Linked DNA regions of Homo sapiens: region 1 is linked to region 2. The links are contacts of gene promoters, found by promoter capture Hi-C in blood cells and fetal thymus (Javierre and others, 2016). All regions are on one chromosome and are shown on one strand. Each heading gives the region's core, a stretch centred on a gene start or on the middle of the fragment in contact. The rest is flanking DNA. Distances are from core to core; before and after follow the strand shown. Region 1 overlaps DUT (deoxyuridine triphosphatase). Region 2 holds the start of FBN1 (fibrillin 1).

Region 1 (6,784 bases), core at 3,591-6,090, 310 kb after region 2:
GAATTACTAGGGACAAGTGAATCTGAATTTAAGCACTTCTTAAAAGGTTCCTGATGCAACACTTTTACGAGAAGAGTGAGTATAAAACTGGGCAGAAAAGCAGCAAAGGCAGTTCATCTCCTGTCGGGCCTGAAGGAAACAATCCATTATTGAACTTGACCAATTCCAATACCAAACCCTGCTTTATTTCTCCACCGTCAGTTGACCATTAATTTACACCTTAATATTTATGAAAAAATTTGATATAAAGATGAAACCAGCTGTTTTCCATATTATCTATATGGAAAAAATTTTGACTGCAGGGACAATTTAAATTAGATTTAATGAAGAAATCCCTCAACATAGCATGTTGTTCCATGCTAGAAAAAATGGCCACAGTAGGCTAGAGAACTTCCATGCTGGGAGATTTTGAGGTACAAGCTAATAATTCATCTATCTTGAATGAGTTAGAGAAAGACATGGACTGACTTCTGAACTATTGTTTCTACTTTATTCAAAAATTTTTAAATAACTAAAACAATACAAATACATATAAAGTAAAAGCTTATAATATTCTCTTACCCTCCCTGAGATAGCTAATGTTACAGAAATATATCTTACATACTACTTTATTTTTTTCTTTTTATCCTTTGAGATTAATATATGTAAATGTTAGCCATTCTTTTTAGATACAAGATATGGAAATATGGGTTCTCTCTCTCCTTCTCTTTCTTTTTTTGGCAGGGTCTCACTCTTATAGCCCAGGCAGGAGTATAGTGGTATGATCACAACTCACTATAGCCTCAACCTCAAGTGATTCTCCCACCTCAGCCTCCAGGTACAAAGGCACCACCACACCTGGCTAATTTTTGTATTTCTTGTAGAGAGAAAGTATCCCTATGTTGCTCAAATAAGCCTCAAACTCCTGGGCTCAAGCAATCTGCCTGTCTCAGCCTCCCAAAGTGCTGGGATTACAGGCATGAGCCACAACGCCCAACCTGTACCATTGTTTCTATGTAACTATTCTCTTGCATAATATCAGACACAGGCTGCTTTTACATTTTGCTATAATAAATGAAGCAGCCCTTTAAGTATATCCTTGTATATGAATGCTTTTTATTTTCATCAAATAGGTTGCAAAAAAGGTGTAGCCACTCAAACTTCCATCAGCAATATTTGAGAATGCCCATTTCCAAAATCCTTGCCAATATTTGATGGCAACAATCTCTTACATTCTGGCCAATATGATGAGTACAAAATGGCTATCTCATTGCCTTACTTTTCATTCCCTGATGACTAGTGAGGCTGGATTTTTTTCCTCCCATTTGTTGGACATTTGCATGTCCTTGTCTATATTTTGTGTATGTTTTTTTCTCATTTGTTCTTTTTCATATAAGTTGCAAATATTTGCTTGTTGGCTTTATAGTATCTTCTAACATACAAAAACACTCCCTTTTTGAAAGGCCTCTGCTAACGTATCTGTAAAGCAGTCCTATCAGAACTACTCAAATGATTGGGTGTCTTGAATCCTGCAGATAGGTGATCTTTATGCTTGGGCCACGAAAATGTGAAAAACCTTTAAGTGACTAAAAGAAATTAAGAAGTTTGAAGTCAATTCAAATGTATGGCAGAAAAAAAGGCCCTCAATAGTTTTTTTTTTTGCATGAATGTTGACGGTATAAAAATTTCAGTAGTTCCAAATTCATTTACCACCCAATTGCCATTCGACCTCCAAGAAAAGCCTTCTCTGCCTACAGGATATAAGTATCAGGGATATTTCTCCTCAGAGAAAGCAGAAAGTAACTTGAAGTTATCACTGGAAAAATCATGCATTGGAACTGGCAGAGTGATTAACTGACTTCAGGCAAAAGTTTTACTGTGTCAAGAGTTTGGCATGTCATTTGTTGGAAACCTTTTTTAGTGAAAAACTATCCACACCTACCAGATGTGAATTCTGAACAGAATCCTGAATGCTCAACTTTTCCCTTTGACCCTTATTTAGAGCCTGGGATTTCTAACAACATCTCTCTTCAGAAATAAAAACTGTTGCCAACTATGATAAACTTGTGCCTAAGGGAGATTGTTAAGATTCTCTGCATCCAAGAACACACCACAATGTGATTTTATGAATAACACCATACCAACCACTAGGCAAACTAACTTTCCATTCTTTTACATGAATTTTTTTCCAGAAAGTTGTTTTAAACAGAGCAAAAATTAGTAACAAAGTCGAATAAAAGAAAAAGTTTCCACATAAAAACAATCTGTGAAGTCCCTAAGGACAGAAATTATATCTCACAGAATCTAATATGTGCCAAGTACTATATTAGGTATTTCATACACATTATCATTTAATCCTCCTACCTCTAGAGGCAGGCACACTAATTTCCATTGTAAAATGAGGAAACAGGCTCAGAAAGGTTAAGTAATAACTAGTTAATGACAGAGCTGGGACCTACATCCAGTTGTTATTCCAAAGCTCCCGTTCCTTGAACAATCATTTGAAACTTCATTGAAAATATATACAATTATTTATATCCTTAAGTTACTGTCCCAAAATGACCACAGTTGACCTTGTAAAAGCATTTTTGAACATCGGGCATAACTTACAGAGCCCAAGGAATCCTCAACCCAAGAGTGGGCTGTCAATGTCCACCCTGCTATGTAAAACTCAGCTCCCCTTTAGTCCCTAAAGGGTGTACTTTTGGGGTCCTGTCTTGTCCCACAGCACCACCTGGTGACACTATGGAGAGACACCACACCCACCAAATGTTAGACTAAGGGGCAGGTCTAGGATAGCCAGGTTTCATTAAGTGCTTAGTTAGCCCTTGCAGTGGCACATAAAAGTGAGCTAATTCTGGACGTGTTTAGTTGGTGAGGGGGATGCAGCAGGGTAATCTCCACAATTAATTGCAGTGGAAAGAACAAGGAGGCTGGAATCACACAGAGACTCCAGTTTTTACCACATATCCATGTGGGCTCATTTCTAAGCCAGTTTTCCTGATCTGTTAACAAGCCTCCATAAAGCAGCTCTGTAAAAACGGGTGGAGGAGGAGATCTAGCACACCTACTTATGTGGGGGCCAAGGTATCTTGTTAAGTGAAAGATTCACTACTGATGGGATAAAGGGTCAGTATGTAAGGACCACATAAGTGGGGTCTGAATCCCAGTTGGAGCGGACCTGAAACAAGGAAACCACATCAGGAAAGTAGAAATTTCCTTACAATAAGAGGAGTAGCTCTGTATCAAGAGTAGTTAGCAGAGGACACTGAGGGTTCTTCATGAAAGGTACCACATGAGGTAGGGTTAACTTTGAGACAAACATGAGAAAGGCTTTATTATAAGGGAAACAGGTAACACAGAGGACTGTCTTAACAAATTTAGAGAAAAGTGTTTTCTCTCCTGACTTCAGGGAAAGATTTTCTTCTTAAATTTTGCTAAAGACAGATAGCTCTCTTATGAAGAAAATTCTTACAAGATAGACCTGTGTTTTCTAGAACTTTTGTTGCTTAAATAATTACTTAATTATTATATCATTAAATCTGTCATTATTAATTAGGTAATCATTATTTTAAAAATTAAGTTAGTAGTTAAACAAAATATAATTACTTAAAATAACCACAAAGCTTTTCCTCCTATTATAACAAGCTTTCCTCTAATCATTTTCTTTTCTTAAAAATAAAATCTGTCATTTGAATATTACCTTTTAAAGACAAAGTAAATACTTGCAAACATTTACAGAATAAAAAAGGAAATATATTACCTCCTACATCAATAAAGTGTTTTGCAGCCAAGCCTGACCGTGGAGCTAAAAAACAAAAAAGGAGACATTGGTTATTTTAAGGGGGAAGGGCTATATCAGAGATAACTGATGCAATTTAAGCATGTCATTCTCTTCACCTATAATATCTATATCTTCATCTTAACTTTAGCACATGGTTTTGAATTAAAGAATATATATTCATCATACTGCATTACCAAAGTTGGAAAGACTAGTTTAGAAAAATTCCACAAGGTTTTAATTCAAAACTAACTTAAACCACTCCCATGTGACTTCAGTCAGAATTTGTGGTGCTGCAGACAGGGGAGAAGGACTGCTAGAATGAGCTGAAAGGTGAGCAAGCGGGAACAACTGTAGGCTGCTCTTTCAAGAAGTTAAGCCTCAAAGGGGAAGAAAGAGAAGTATGGCCAGCAGGAACACACTACTGAGGAAGAAGACTTTGGTTTTAAGATGGGACACCACAACATGTACAATGCAGATGGGAAGGGAAAGGAAGAGGAAGGGAGAGGGAAACAAACCTAACCAAATAGTAGCAGACCATAGCCTACAACTTGGGACCCCACTATTCATGATTCAGATGCCAAAAGACATGCCTGTAGGAAACACATGAACCAGAGTAAGATAAATGGGCTAATATCAGTTAAGTAAAAATGCCAAAAACTAAGTCTCAATGATTCAATGCTAGTATACTTTTTAATCCTAAAAAATGAAAAAAATAAAAAGCTAAGGTTACACCTTATTATTGCAGACTCAAGCATCAGGCCTATAATTAATTATCCTAACTTCCAGCATTTTATTTTAGAATAATTTAAATCAGGCACTTTGTCAATAATGCTGCCTCTTTCTGTACTAACCTTTATTTCACTCCATCTCCTGCCCCTTCCCCTGAAAAAATTCTAAAAAATGGAGTCAATGATGCTCAAGAGATGAGATGAGAGCCCATCTTGTTATCTTTTAAGGGCTGAAGTACTGGCAGTTTCCTCACTCATGGCTAATAATATAGTGCCAGTCTAGCTCCTTTCCCTGGAGGAGGGCGTCACAGCTCCATTGCCTCCTTTATGTTTACTCTGAAGTTAGTCAAAAAGAACTTACGCTCTTGCAAAGAACTGTCTGGTAACAACTGATCCGCTCCAGAAAAATCAAACCTGTTGACGTGTACTCCATTTTGTCCTAGCTCCTCCCAGTGCCTCTACAACACTGAAGAGTATCCCTTACCCTAACCCCATGGCCAAACAAGAAAAGGTTAAGTAGGCTTACACATTCTGGGACCAACAGGTCAGAAGTTTTACTCTCATAATATAAAATGCCATGTTCTGAGAACAGCCTTCTAGGCCAGTGTGAGCCTAAAAGCTCCAGTGAGGAAGGAGAAAAATAAAAGGGTCAAAAAGAGGCAAAGCAGAGATGTAAATAAAGCCTTTCAAAGAGTGCATTTGCTATCACAAATGGTGCTTCTTTTAGGACACAGCCCAAGCAATATTGCCTGCTTATTACCCCAAATGAAACATGAAGAATCTATCACAAAGGAGAACTTGACAAATAGTTACCTGTTTCTTAAATGACTTACCCACTCTTCCATAACACCCAGAAGGGAGCGCTATCTGAATGTCCGTTTTCACAACAGCTTTCTCCATAGGTGGTATTGTGTAATCATAGGCACTAAGAAAATATTGAAAGAAAATAACTGCAAATCTATTTATAAAATTGTTTTTATATTTTCTTTGTGACCAAGCATACAAAATTACTTTCAGTGTATTTAATGAATTAATGCAACTTTAGTTTCTAAAATCAACCTTGCTATGATGAATTACCAATTCATCTTAAAAGTTTATGAAGAAGGTAGAGGTGGCTATTTTATTATTAAAAAGACAGCTTTAGATAAAATAATTCTCCATGAATATTTTTGGTGGTGTGAAGAGATGTCAACATTGTAAATGTTTGCCCCTGAACAAAAGTTTATTGGAAACTGAGGTACTTATCAGCGTGAAAGGGCAGAAAGGCAAACTTTCAAAAGGTGGATGCTTTACAACCATAGTTTGAAAAGGAAAAAAATGAAGAAAGAACAAAGAAAAAAGGCCAAATACTACTAATAATACTAGCTATCATTGATTAAGCCTTTACTGTGTGCCAGGAACAGTTCTAATTGGTTTACATATATTAACCCATTTTATTCTCACAATGATCTGTGTGATTAGGGAAAATATGCAGAAGGAAAGGAGAAAAACGGGTGGACAAAATAAGAGATAAAGAACTGTGTTGTATCTGTCAGGCAGGGCTTGGTAGTTTACCAAGCTTAGGCTATGAATTTCCTGGCTGAGGGAGACAGCTGATCACCGTGAACGGCCCCTGGAGATGGACCTTGCTTAGGAACAGAATTCCTCTAAAGTCCACATAGCAAATGCTGCTACTCTTGATATTACTGTGGCCCTCTCCTGGGTAGAAATTTAAGAGATTTTACAATGAGCAGAACCGGAAGTTTACTTTGGAGACCTTAATTAACTCTGGTAAAGCAGTACTACCCCTTCTTTCACTGAAATCCCTCTTTAAACAGTTAAGCCCTAATTTATTGCTGATCCATTATTTCCATGTCAATTTCAGTATACAGAAAGTCACCTGTGTTTATTAGGAGTCTACTTAAGGTATCTTAAATCAAGGACTCCCCTAGGACTCAAGAAAGTGCTCCAAAATATACTTTGGAAAGGTCTAGTCAAACTATATCACTCTACTTTTATTCATCAAAATTAAGAGACTGTAGTTTTTCCAGCTACAATTGTCCATACCTACTTTCCTTTTCCTTTTTTTTCTGTTGCTATCATCAGGCACTACTTTCTCTTCTCCTGTGCTTAGACTAATAGTTCTCATGTTTGAATTATCTGAGATACTTTAAAATAAATCCCAATGCTTGGGATTTAGTATAAAATCTCCTTCCCTCTCAGCATTACTTTTCTCCTACCTTAATGGTTCTAAGAACTGGGCACAGTAGTCAGATGAAAAAAAAAAAGCCCAAAATTCGGGATAAAAAATTAT
Region 2 (6,375 bases), core at 1,861-4,360:
TTACGAAAAAAAAAAAAAAAGTCTGTGATAGGTTTAAGGAGAGTTGGGTCCTCAATCATCTGGCATCAAGAAAATCTTATTGCAAAGACACAGATTTTTATTATTCGTTACTGAATTTTGTCATAAGTAGCATGCTACTCTAATACATGTTGATTGCCTAGATAGCGGGAATAGTTCTTGTATATTTAAAATGTATTTACTTTTAAGTAATCAAGTTCCCCCTGCTTCCCCTTCCCCTGTAATCTTCCACCATTGTGGTCAGAACATGAGACTTATTGCTCAAAGAGGGGAGTATATGGCTTGGAGCTGCCACCCAATATGAAGGAAGAATCTTTCCTTTATTGGAGAAAGAGGCCAATGAATAAAGAGGAGGTTGCCGGGGAAAGCAAAGGCCAGGTAAAAACGTTTAATCCAAATCCCTCCCTTGGAGGTGAAACCCTGGAAGGCAGTTTGAGTTAGAAATAATAGAAATGTCCAGAAATGTTGGAAGAGGGGACTTGCAGGGCACCAGGATTTGGCCTTTACTTCCTGGGCAGAAGCCTTAGAAAAGGCTTGTGTTTGGTTGCTGCTGACCAACATGTCACTGAGTGTAAGATTCTGAGAGAAAGGGCACAGCATGTCTTGCATGCTGCTGGAGTACAAGGAAAGCATGCAGTTTCCAGAGTCCCCTGTGGGTGCAGAGCAGCCCAGAAAACTGGTGGGCAGGACAAGGCCTTTCTGGATGTCCAACAGCCCTGCTTTCTCCTAATCCATGGTCCCTCTGCTCAGATCCTTTTCCCAGTGTGAATTACCTCCTTACCCCTCCCTACCCAGGGAGCTTTAAAAAATATCCATGTGAAGAATCCACTACAGACTACTCAAATCAGAAACTCTGGGTGTTGGGGCCTGGTGTCAGTGTCAGATTTTTTTTTTTTTTTTTTTTTTTTGAGGCAGAGTTTCACTCTGTTCTGCCCAGGCTGTAGTGCAGTGGCACAATCTCCTCTCACTGCAATCTCTACCTCTCAGGTTCAAGCGATTCTAGTGCCTCAGCCTCCTGAGTAGCAAGATTTACAGGCATGCACCACCACACCTGGCTAATTTTTGTATTTTTAGTAGAGACAGGGTTTCACAATGTTGGTCGGGCTGCTATTGAACTACTGGTCTAAAGTGATCCACCCGCCTTGGTCTCCCAAAGTGCTGGGATTACAGGCCCAGGCATGAGCCACCATGCCCATCCTGGTGTCAGAATTTTTTTAAAGCCTCTTATTATTTTACTGCATAGCCAGGGTTGAGAACTGCTATCCTAAGTAGAGTCTAGTTATGTTTTAGACTTAAGTTAAATATCACTTCCTCAGGGATCCCTTTCCTGATCAGCCCTAGCCTAGGTCAAGTCCCCTTGTTATATATCCTCCAAGCAAGCACCCAGTACTTATCCTGTTTGGCGCTTAACAATTGGTCCATTATTTGTTTCAAGTCTGCCTTTCCTTGTTGACTACCTGCTGTGTGAGGGGAGACACATTTCTGCCCTTTTCACTAAATTGTTGAAGTCAGTCGTGTTCAAATTGTTGAACCTGCCTTGTTAAAATTGTTGAAGTCTAGTTCAACAATGCACTAAGTAGTACACAGTTCGTGCTCAGTAAAAACATCTTGAATGAATGATCTCCTTTACTCAGCCAGGAGTGTGTGACCAAGGCTCTCATTCATGAATCTGCTAAGAGACCTTTTGCAGGTGAGACCTTAAAGTACACCACATACATACTTACAGGACTATGGCTTTAGATCAGCTCATAGTTCCCACAGTTTTTCTGTTTCATCTTCATGTATCACAGCAGTTCAGCATGTCCATCATCACCATTACAACCCTGTGTGGTGGACACTACAAGTCCCATCTTGTATTTGGAAAGAAGTTGAATAACTTGCCCAGGTCTCTCTACCCTACTGTCTGGGCCCCTTTACAAACGGTTACAAATAAGGAAAATCCCTTTCAACAAGATACATTCCCAGGGTACCTGTTTGTGCTGAGCTTTTATTATTGGCTTGACAGCAGGCTGGTGGCTGCTTGCAGGGGATCTTCTGGGGGTCTCCAGTTACAGCAGCCAGGACCCAGTGTGCGACTTCAGGCCTTCCTAAACTGTTACAGGGTGCAGGCATCATTGGGCATTATCCATATAAGGATGCCACAAATACTATACCTTTCAAAGCCACTAAATTCACTGTGCCGCGCATATCCTGGGGAGAGGCAGCTGTGTGTGGGGGAGGGCGAGGGGACCGGGAGGGTGTAAGTAGAGTCCTCCAGATGAACCCCAGTCTTAATCTGGGCTGGGCAAGAGGACCATCCCTTCACCGCTCCCATCCTACATCCTAGGTTCCAACATTTACAGGCCCCTGGGTTGGACACCGACTTAGAGAGAGCACCCTGGATTCAGGCCTGGGTGGCTTGAATTGAGCCTCAGAAGAGCCGCGTCTGGAGTGGGCTCTCGACACCCAGGGCAAGTGGGGGCGGCAGAGCCCTCTCCTCGGTCGGCACAGCAGCCTCTGCCGCGGTCCCGGCCTGCGACGCGCCCAGTCTTAGCCTCCCGGCCTCCGGCGTCTGCTGAGTGTCCGGCGGGAGAGGCGCAGGGAGCGCGCTACCGGGAGGCGCGGGCAGCGGGGACTGGTTTTCTCTCGGGCCAGGGCCTCCGGGGCAACCGTCTCCAGCGCGCATTCTTGGTGCAGGTGGAACAGCTTTCTGCTCCGGTAGGGCTTCACCTATCGCGGGAGAGGTTAATCTCGGATCTAAACCTCGCAGCCGCAGAGCGGGCTAAAACCGCTACTCCACCTCTTCCCATTTCTCCCCTCCCCACCTCAAGACAAAAAGTCCCAGGCCGGGCAGGACCTGATCACCTCTGCCTCCTCCCACTGCGCTAATCCTGCGAGCGAGAGGCCCCGCACCGAGGCGGAGGCTGGCAAAGGGGAGTGGAAAGGGAGGATGGATGGGGCCGGGGGGTGGGGTGGTGATGAGGGCGACGAAGGAGGGGGTGTCATTTTCTTTTTCTTTCTTTTTTTAAAAAAAGTATTTCTCTCGCGAGAAACCGCTGCGCGGACGATACTTGAAGAGGTGGGGAAAGGAGGGGGCTGCGGGAGCCGCGGCAGAGACTGTGGGTGCCACAAGCGGACAGGAGCCACAGCTGGGACAGCTGCGAGCGGAGCCGAGCAGTGGCTGTAGCGGCCACGACTGGGAGCAGCCGCCGCCGCCTCCTCGGGAGTCGGAGCCGCCGCTTCTCCAGTGGGTGCAGCCGGGGTCCCGACGGGGGTCGGGCGGCCACCGGGGCTGGAGCTGCGGCCACGGAGGCTTTTGCGTTTGCGCCGCGCCGAGGGCAGGGACAGGGACTGGGGTGAGGGGCTGTCCCGGAACGTCCACAGCTGGCGCTGGCCCTCCCCTGCCTGACAGCTTCCTGGCCCGGGGCTCTTGGTGCCGGGCTCCGCGTCAGATGTTCGGGGGGCGGTGGCATCGCCCGGAGTCGGCGGGGACGGCGCGGCTGGCTTCCAGCCTGGCGGAGAGGGCAGGCTGAGGAGTGGGGCGTTCAGAGCGCGCATCGCGCGCAATTCGTGCCGCTAAAAAAAATAAACCCAGAGAGCTCGCCCGGGGCTTAGGACCGCTGGGGATATGGGTACTTTGCGCCGCGCTCTTCTGGCGGGGCCCGGGAGGCCGAGGGATCGGCCGGGGCTGCTGCCGCCGGGGGCCTGGGCTTTCCAGCCAGCTGTGGACCAAACGGTCTTCCCTTACCCAAATTAACTGCGCCACGCGCAGGCGGCGCACGGGTTGGGCTTGGGAATGGGGACCGCGAGGCTTCAGCATCCCGATGCCCTGAAAGTCTCCCCGCCTCGGGGATTTGTCTCTGTGTTGCAGCTGGCAGGGGCCGCCTGAAGTGGGAGCAGCGCCTGGAGAAGGCGGGAGGAGCCCGGCCCGGGGGACGGGCGGCGGGATAGCGGGACCCCGGCGGCGCGGTGCGCTTCAGGGCGCAGCGGCGGCCGCAGACCGAGCCCCGGGCGCGGCAAGAGGCGGCGGGAGCCGGTGGCGGCTCGGCATCATGCGTCGAGGGCGTCTGCTGGAGATCGCCCTGGGATTTACCGTGCTTTTAGCGTCCTACACGAGCCATGGGGCGGACGCCAATTTGGAGGCTGGGAACGTGAAGGAAACCAGAGCCAGTCGGGCCAAGAGAAGAGGCGGTGGAGGACACGACGCGCTTAAAGGGTAAAGGAACCGGTTCCCTCCTTTGGTGTGGGTCTCCCAAGTTTCAAGATCCAGAACAACGGGCAGGATGACTCTCCCTGTGGAAGACTCCTTGGCAAGACCTCCTGGGGGCACCTTAGAGGTGCTAGGGTTGTTTAGTCCCCACCCCGTTCGTGGTTAAACTACCTTGCCCCTACTCCCAGAGATTTCTGCCCCAAAGGAGAGGACGTGGTTAAATGGAATCTTGGGCCATTGTTGAGGCAGATTTTGGGAGGCGAGAAGAGTTCCTTGGGGAAGAAGGGGAGGAGTTGCGAGTGGGATAAGAGGAGAAGCCCGTTCCTTTCCCTGCAATATCAATTCTGGTTGTTTCTAGAGGAAAGTACTTTCCTTGGGGTCATCTTGGTAGATGCTGTATTTGAAAGGGGGCAAGGAAAGGAAGGGATTCCCATGACAGTCAGAGGAGAAATCACACAGTAGTTGACTCTTCCGTAAATTATGCTTATTAAAATTACGGATTGGGTTTTCTGGGCAATGCTTCCTTTAGATGTCTACATTGGAAGCAGAACAGGGCAAGTGGTTCTGAGAACTGGTTTTTTGAGTTGTGTGGGGCTCTCCGTTTCACTGCAGCAGTAAGGCTGCTGTGGCCGGCCTTAAGGGAGTATTTTTAACTAGTGGTGTTTGTGTTGTGTACATGCAACTGACCATTTCACTGGCTTCCCATGCCGCTGTTACAGATGTTTCAGCCGGAAAAATTTTAATTAGACTTGACTAAGGGTTGTCATTTTCCTGTATTGAAGGACAGTGGGAATACATTTCCTTTAAGAGAAATTTGTCTGCAGTTGTTTAAGTTAAAGCCTCCATGGAAACAACAGGATGGACTGTCAGTGACCCCTTTTATCTTCTTGGAGGAGCCTGTTAAATAAATTCAGACAGTATATATAGGGAGATTTTGTATTAAATTCTTACCATTCTCGCTGATGCTCTTTTCCTGAGTGGTTCTGTAGCTTTATTATATAGCTCTGGGTCACCAAGTGATGGTATCCACTTGGATATGTGGCTGTTCATTTCACTTACTCTTTTTTTGTTATGAGGTGTTATAGTCATGTATATGTAGTAAAATTTGTGTTTGTATGGCCCAGATATGAGAAGAAAAAGTAAACTCACCAGACCAGTTTTTGACTCCTAGTCTGGAGTAAGGACAAGATGATTGTATGAGCCAAGCACTTAGGCTGTGATAAAATAGCACAGAAAATAGTTATGATTAATTCGGTTCCATCTTGGCCTTCGTGGAAAATAAACCCAGAATTCCGATAATGTTGGAAGGAAGTTTGCTTATCATGGTAAACCTGACCTTGATCAGACAGCAGATGTTTATTGCCCTGTGTGCAAGGCACATGGCAAGTTCAATAAGTAGACTGAGGCTCTGATTTTCATATGTTCTCAAGAGGACCTCATTTAGTCCAGTATTTTTCCTTCAAAAATACATTTCTCCTACATAATAATATCTTAATATCTATTCTGATAGGATTGCTCCTGTATATAAAGGACGTGGGGATTTAATTCTGTGGCTGAAGATCTGCAGAGAGGTGTGAGGCCTGGTCAGACATTTGTCTCATTTCTCTGGGCTGTCACCAACTAGTGTGTTCCCTTGGGAATGTGAAAAAAGAAACTAAGCTTTACTTTGTTGCTTAACAGGATGCCACACTTTTACTCACACTTGTGCTTTTTCTCTCTGGTTTTAAATTTGTTTGTGATTATAGAGAGATACCTCTCTGTGCTCCTCACAGTATTTGATCATTAACACAGACCTTATCCTATTGTAAACTATTTATAAAGCCTTCCTAAAAACAGGGTATTAATAGAATTGTAATTATGTGTGTTCCTAATTCTCATGTTAATTATAAGATTTTATAATAAGTGATATATATATATACACACACACACACACACACACATACACGGGGGTGAAAATAATAATTTAAAAATATATACAATTAAAAGTATTTCCCTGCCACCTTTCAGAGACCATTTTCTTGTGTATTTTTCTATAAATCTTTTAGGCATATGTATACATGTACAAATAAACACAAATATATATGTATACATACACATGTGTGTGTGTATCCTTTTTAATACATGGAATGTATTGTACATGCAATATTCTGAACTTTACTTACTTTTTA

Evidence for each region. The method cuts DNA at HindIII sites, captures the fragments that hold promoters and counts their contacts. A CHiCAGO score of 5 or more calls a contact.
Region 1: a contact is called between a fragment that was not itself captured here and the fragment with the promoter of FBN1 in region 2, in 3 of 17 cell types (erythroblasts, megakaryocytes and endothelial precursors). The highest score is 8.9, in erythroblasts.

The regions. Positions count from the first base shown.
Region 1 is chr15:48,333,049-48,339,832 of GRCh38, reverse strand. It overlaps DUT (deoxyuridine triphosphatase), which reads right to left. Exons shown (of 7, transcript NM_001025248.2): 3 at 5,325-5,416; 4 at 3,743-3,787. Among named protein-coding and RNA genes, the nearest start is that of DUT-AS1, 4.6 kb to the right of the region's middle. RefSeq lists a silencer at 2,747-2,816. The HindIII fragment of the contact is 2,422 bases long and covers 3,630-6,051 here.
Region 2 is chr15:48,642,444-48,648,818 of GRCh38, reverse strand. FBN1 (fibrillin 1) reads left to right here and starts at 3,110. Exons shown (of 66, transcript NM_000138.5): 1 at 3,110-3,244; 2 at 3,869-4,213. The coding sequence starts at 4,050. It overlaps FBN1-DT (FBN1 divergent transcript), which reads right to left and starts at 3,014. Exons shown (of 2, transcript NR_183872.1): 1 at 1,989-3,014. RefSeq lists enhancers at 2,946-3,035, 2,548-3,072 and silencers at 3,146-3,225, 3,266-3,445, 3,856-3,985, 4,086-4,135. The HindIII fragment of the contact is 7,208 bases long and covers 1-5,868 here.